2 separate regions of the Homo sapiens genome follow, and region 1 is linked to region 2. The links are contacts of gene promoters, found by promoter capture Hi-C in blood cells and fetal thymus (Javierre and others, 2016). All regions are on one chromosome and are shown on one strand. The core of a region is centred on a gene start or on the middle of the fragment in contact, and the rest is flanking DNA. Distances in the headings are between cores, read along the strand shown. Region 1 has its middle 4.5 kb from the start of DMBX1. Region 2 holds the start of KNCN (kinocilin).

Evidence for each region. Contacts are between HindIII fragments. The CHiCAGO score rates a contact against its expected background, and 5 or more counts as called.
Region 1: a contact is called between a fragment that was not itself captured here and the fragment with the promoter of KNCN in region 2, in 1 of 17 cell types (M1 macrophages). The highest score is 6.1, in M1 macrophages.

What each region holds. Positions count from the first base shown.
Region 1 is chr1:46,483,865-46,486,898 of GRCh38, forward strand. No RefSeq gene overlaps it. Among named protein-coding and RNA genes, the nearest start is that of DMBX1, 4.5 kb to the right of the region's middle. RefSeq lists an enhancer at 1,637-2,184. The HindIII fragment of the contact is 3,415 bases long and covers 1-3,034 here.
Region 2 is chr1:46,550,389-46,553,771 of GRCh38, forward strand. It overlaps KNCN (kinocilin), which reads right to left and starts at 1,259. Exons shown (of 4, transcript NM_001322255.2): 1 at 677-1,259. The coding sequence starts at 827. The region is part of intron 3 of MKNK1-AS1 (MKNK1 antisense RNA 1); the gene reads left to right. RefSeq lists an enhancer at 1-21. The HindIII fragment of the contact is 11,434 bases long and covers 1-3,383 here.

The DNA of each region.
Region 1 (3,034 bases), core at 119-2,618, 66 kb before region 2:
CCCCCTGCCTCTACCCTGGGCCCACAGCACCAACCTGGGTGGAGATTTAAGACCAGCCGCCCTGAAGATAGAGTGGGCCTCCTCTGTCTGGACCCCTCAGGAGCTCCTCCCAGGTTCTCAGAGGGCCATGCCTCTCCCCAGCACTCTGTGGGGGCTGACAGTTTGGGAATGCTGAGGCTGGATTTGAGAGAAGAGTGAACAAGGAGGTGGGGGCTCTTTCCTGGTTTGAAGGCCAGTTACCCCAGGTGTACACAGGCATGTTCACACATGTGCCACACTCAGGCCTTTCCCAGGCCTCCTTGTACACACAAGGGGCACACTTAGTCCTCAGTGCACACAAACATAAGGCAATCTCTCGGCACATGTATGTAGGGGGACACACTTGACCCCCCTACCATGTGTGAATGTACACAAACGTATGACACTTGGCTTTATGCAGTCAGACACACACTTGCGTGTTCCCCAAGTGAAGGGGTGCACATCCAGTCCCTTCACACAGACCTGTGTAGTACATCTAAAGCACCAGGCCACATCCTCTCTACCCAGAGAATTCCTTCAAAAAATTGACTTCTGTCTGGGACCATCAAATAGTCACTCTGCCTTTGGGGATGAGAACGTGTACCATACTCATATTACATATACAGATTCAGGCCGGGCACGGTGGCTCATGCCTGTAATCCCAGCACTTTGGGAGGCTGAGGCGGGTGGATCACTTGAGGTCATGAGTTCAAGACCAGCTTGGCCAGTATGGTGAAACCCCATCTCTACTAAAAATACAAAAATAAATTAGCTGGGCGTGGTGGCAGACGCCTGTAATCCCAGCTACTCAGGAGGCTGAGGAGGGAGAATCACTTGATCCCGGGAGATGGAGGTTGCAGTGAGCCAAGATCGTGCCATTGAGCTCCAGCCTGGGTGACAGAGTGAGACTCCATCTCAAAAAAAGAGAGAGAGAGAGAGAGATCCAGATCCAGCCAAAAGCCCTCTTACACATCTGCCTCTCCAGGTGGGAGGAGCATTGCTTAGTGGGAACTCCTTATCTCTTGGTCTCCTTTACTTCCCAGAGCAAGTGCAACCGGAGAGGAAGCCCAGGCCTTGGCCTTCCTGCAGTCAGCCTGCCTAGACGTGGGTTGGGGGGCTGGAACTATGCTCAGGAGCGCCTGAGCCATTGCCCCCTAGCTGGCACGGGGTGAGTGGAGTTGAAGGCCACCTTACCTGCCCTTCACAGTACAGTTACTTGTGGGCAAGAGTGGTCAGAAGAAACTCAGCATGCTCAAAGGCACTACAGGAGACCCCCCACTCCAAAGCTGCGAATAAATAGGGTTTTCCAATCTCTGCTGGGGGTGGCTGGCGGGAGGAGGGTGGAGAGGGCAGAAATGAGGAGGTCCTCTGGGTGTCAGCAAGTTCTCGAGGTGAGAAGGAGATGGGTCAGGTAGCATTGGGGGAAAGGCTGGGAGTATTGGGGGAAAGGCTGGGAGCACGTGCGGTATTTGAAGAACCGGGGTTGGAGGGTGGGAGTGGAGCAGGTAGCGGCTGGAGTAAGGGAAGGAAGGAACGTGCATGCAACTAACAGGGTGTGTGTGTGTGGTGGGGGCGGGGGTGACTTTTGGGTGGTCGGAGAGGGTCAGGAACAAGCGGGGGTATCTCTGAGCGGTGAAGGGGAGTAGCCGTCGGAGGGCGGGGACAGAGCGGTAGCTGCCTTGCGCTGGGATTGGGGGTGGGGGTGGGAGTGGGGAGGGCTCTTTAAGCGGCGGCCGCGCTAATAACCTGTCCAGGAGATGGCTCGTGGCAAATTGCTTTGTTAGTCTTGTCAGCGCGGCCGGGGCCGCCGTCAGCGCGCGCCATGGATCAAGATGATGAATCGCTGCGGACGGCGCAGATGCGGGCGGCCCGCGGCCGGGCCCCCGGGTAGGGGTGGGAGGTGGAGGGGGCCGCGGGGGGCCCGGCCGCCGCCATTAACTCCGGAATTAGGTCTAAGCCGCCCACCACCCAGCCACTGCCCCGGGGAGCGCCAGCCGTTGGGGCGGGAGCGGGCCCAGGATGGGGACTGAGACCCGCGTCCCCCACCCGAACCTGGACCTAGCCTCCTCTGAACGCAGAGGGCAGTGGGCCGCCCGGAAGGGGCGGGGAGGGGCCCCGGCCCTCAAGCCGCACAGCCAGGTGTTCCCGCTCTTCGAGGACATCCCCTGCCCGCCTGGAGGTTGAGAGGGCGGCCGCATGGGGCATTCGCCAACCCCTCTCACCCGCCCCAAACCCTCGCTGTGAGCTGCTAGGGAGCCTTCGTGGGGGTGGAGGGGGAAGCTAAGGAGAAACAGAGAGAGAGGGACAGACAGACAGACAGACAGACAGACAGACAGACAGACAGACAGACAGAGTTGGGGTGTGAGTAGGGTGGTTGGGTTTGACATTGCTACTCTAAACTGAGCTCAGAGACCAGCGATGGTGGGGCTGGGGCCTGCCCTGGGACTTCAAGGGGACCTAGGCCCCTAAAGTGGTTCCGGGCAGACAGCTGGGACCCTGCGTTCTTTGCATTTCCAGACCAGTTGGAAACGGTGAGCACCTAGTTTTCCCAAGTTCCTAAATTAACTCACCCCTTACCCACCTCCCCCTTGGTCCAACTTAGAAACATCTCCCCCCAAAACACACACACACCACACGCACACCTAGGAATTTACAAACTCACACAATCCACATAAGCACAGTCTACATTCACATGTAAACGTGTATACGCATATATTACACACAAATATAGGAGTATATACTTAAATGTATTCATATACTCATAGCACAGGAAAATGAATTCGAACAAATATAAAACCACATCCAGAAATGCACCACTGCCTGCACTCCTAGTCCCAGCAGCCCAGGAAAGTCTACTGGGGACAGGTCCCCAGTTCCTCAGGGGATGCCTTTCTTTTAAGCCCTTTGAAGGCGTCAGCAACAGCCCTGGGCAGGCAGGTGGGGAGACTCCAGGAGGAAGGCCCTGAACTATTTCCACTTATTGATTCCTGTCTAGACGGTGGCACTTTCAAAATGG
Region 2 (3,383 bases), core at 9-2,508:
GGGAGCAGGAGCAGTGGAGCCAGTCCTGCCTTGCCCGCCCCCGCTCCATCCCCCGATGAGCATCTGTGCCAGAACCCGCAGGTGTAGATACCTAAAGCCCCCTAGCCTGATGCTTCTGGTCCTGCCTTTGGCCTGGGCGGGGGCGGGGGGTGGGGTGAGGTGAGGTGAGGTGAGGGATGGCATTCAGCGTCACTGCGGGGCAATCAGTGGGCGTGGCCCCACACAGATAGATGGACACAGCTGCTGTGGAGGCAAACAGGGAAAGAAGACGAAACCCTTTTTCTGAGCTGGAGCCTGTCTTGGCTCAGAGAGTCCTCAGGAGCTCTGTCCTTTTACCTGCCGCCATCAACCCCCTGTTCCGCCCAGATAGGCTGATGAATCCCACCACAAATCCAGGAGCCTAGAGCTTGGGGCTGGAGAGCCAGTGGGAGTAGCCAGAAAAGAGTGTGACGGCCAGCTCTCCTTCTTTTCTCCTCCCTGTGGCTGGAAGGAGCCCCAGCGCGTCGCTCCTCTCCCGCCTGTGCCCCTGATGGCGGCCTTGCTCACACCTCTAGCTTCCGTTCTCCCCAGCTGATTCCTGCTGACCCAGCCCTTCCCTGTTCCTTGTTCACCTGACGATGCCCCTGCCCCCACCTCCAGAATCTCCCTTCCCTATCCCAGCCCAGCCCCTGCTCACCCAGAACAGCAGCGCCAATAAAGACACCGCCCATGGCAGCTGCAGCCTTGGATACGGAGATGCCGATAATGATGCTGCCAGCCACCAGCCCGAGAGCCACGCAGGCCAGCTGCAGGCCGCGGAAGTCTCTGCTGCTGATGGGGATGTCCATGCAGGCCCACCCGGGGCACTGCCTCCAGCCGGTGCAGTCTGGCCCCAGAAAAGTCCTGGAAGTTTCTGGGCTCTTGGATGTCTCCTTGTTGGCGCTCCAACTTCAGGGTAGGAGTTTCTGGGCAGTAAGATGATAGGTGGGGAACCCTGGGATTTATCTGCAGTCCTATTCCACTGCTCCACTACGGGCCCCCCAGTCCCACCTTGACCAGGGATCTGTACGAGGTCACCCAGCTTACTCTTCCTCTCTCAAAGCCCTCTGAAGCTGAAGCCCACCCTTGGGACTCCTGTCTGGCTACATTTCTGCTTTGGCTGCCAGAGTTCTAGGGAGCTGGGCCTGTTCCATAGGATCCTTCCCTGCCAGCCTCCACCCAGGAGAGTTCAAGCTCCCCTGCCCAGGACATCCTGCCCCAGCTTCCTAGAGCCACTTACTTGCCACTGAACCTCAGCCTATGAAAATTTAAAGCAATGAGAGGCAGGGTGAGGGGGGAGTTGGTCCAGCGGCCACAGGCTCCTCAGAGATGTAGGCAGCAGGGAGGTGCTGAGTTATTCATGAGGTTGCAATGTGAGTGGCTGTCTGGGTCCCAGGGCCCAGCGGGCAGTCAGCCCAGGTTCCACTGCTGGTTCCTGAGGAGGAAGAACGAGCTGGTGGCTTTGCATGTCGTTCAGAAGCCAGGGATGTGAGGAGACTCCTGATCACATGCTCAGGGCCCGCTGTAATGTGCTCTGCCCTTTGGCCTGGAGGTGCACCTGGGGTCTCTGCTTGGAGTCTGAGATAGACACACAGCAGGAGGCTCAAGAGACAGGAACTGCACCTGGTATGGAAAGCGGACAGGGAGAGGCATCCCTCCAAGTCTGCTCCCTACCCCTGCCCATCCCATCCCCATCCTGTCCACCTCTGGGCTCCCAGGTAGGGCTGAGGGCGTCCTAGTTTGAGGCTTGATCTCAGGGGACTCCCTTGTCCTCAGGTGGGCTTGGTACCCACCCCCCTTTTAGTGGCCAGTGGAATGGAGAGTGAACCCTTCTAGCCACCTTGGGGATCCCGACTGGGAGTGAAAGGGAAGAGCAGTGGTGGTGCTGGTGTGGGCAGGAGGAAAACACCTAAGGGGTAGGGTAGAGAAGAGGACTTGGTAGGGGCTAGGTGCCGGGAGTGGGAGGCTGGGTCATGGTTGGTGCCTTCCCATCCGCTGAACTGAGCACCTGCACCCAGCCTGTCTGAGTTACTTGCAGGATGCCCCACCCCAAGGCTGGGCAGTGGTCACCAATGCAGCCTAGCCCTGAGCCCTGCCCCGGCCCCCAGTTCCAGCCTTTATCATTCATTGCGTTATTTGGCCCTTTATGGATTGGGGACCCCCCAGTCTCAGAATATGGCCCCGGCCTGGCCCTGCACCTGGGCACAATTCCTAGGGTCCCATAATCCTGCTCGGAGTCCCGTCGCCAGCCTCCCTGGCCTCTCTTTGGATGCCCCCTCTCTGCACTGCATCTGCAGTCTCATATTGCCAGGCTCAACTTCTTGTTCCTCCACCTGCCTCCATGGCTGCCCTGTTCTTGTTCTATCTCCTCTGTAGGCTGAGAGCCCCTTGAGGGCAGGTTCCAGGAGTGAGCTCCCCAGAATGCTGTGGCTGGGAGGGACCTGAGCTAGGCTTCTGAACATGAGGACAGAGTTCAGGGAGAGGGCTTGGACTGCACAACCACCTCCAGTCATCAAAGAGGAGGGCTGTGGACACAAGGGAACCTCTGTCTCTAACAAGAGGCATTCCTTGTATGTGGAGAAGGGGGCCTGAGAAGGCCCAGGGTCACCTGAGTTGGAGCTTCGGCTCATGATGAGTCTGTAGAGAGGGGTGACTGCAGCACACAGATGGGCCCTGGACTGTGTTCCTGTTCCCCACAGAGGGAACACCCCTGGAGCTGGGCATTCCCCAGCCACGGTGCTGCTGCCAGCATCTGCTGTGCCTCCTGCCTGGATGAGATCTGATTATTCCTCTAATTAGGCATCAAATCATAGCCCATGTCTCTGTCACACATAATTGATCCCCCACTGACTTAGTTTTAGAAGGAGCCACCAAAATAATTGTCCATGAAACGTGTTCCTTGCTCCTCTCAAAGTCTAAGGCTGAGGGCGACTCTCTCACACCCTCACCAAGATAGAAGCTCTTGGGGCCGCGTTTTCCACCTCGCACTATGGGGCTCGGGCCAGCCATTCCACCTCCCTGAGCCCACTGCCTTGTCTGGTGATGGGGATGGGGGTGGCAGAGGCACCTGTGCACTGCTTCAGATCTCAGAAAACACTGTGATCTCAAAGGAGAGGCACGTTAAGCCTTTTTCAGTTCCAAGATCACAGAACCAGGGCCGTCCCAGCTCTTCATATAGGTGGGGAATCCAAGACATGGGGAGACAGAGGAATTGCCCCAGAGTCCTCATGGATTCTGCCCCTCTGGGAAGTACTCTGGCCTATCTGCCCCTGAATTTCAACACTGTCTTAGTTGAGGTGGGAGGAACTGGCAGACCCACCTTCAGAGGGAGACATTGAGTTAAAAAATTAGTCAAGGGACCAGGC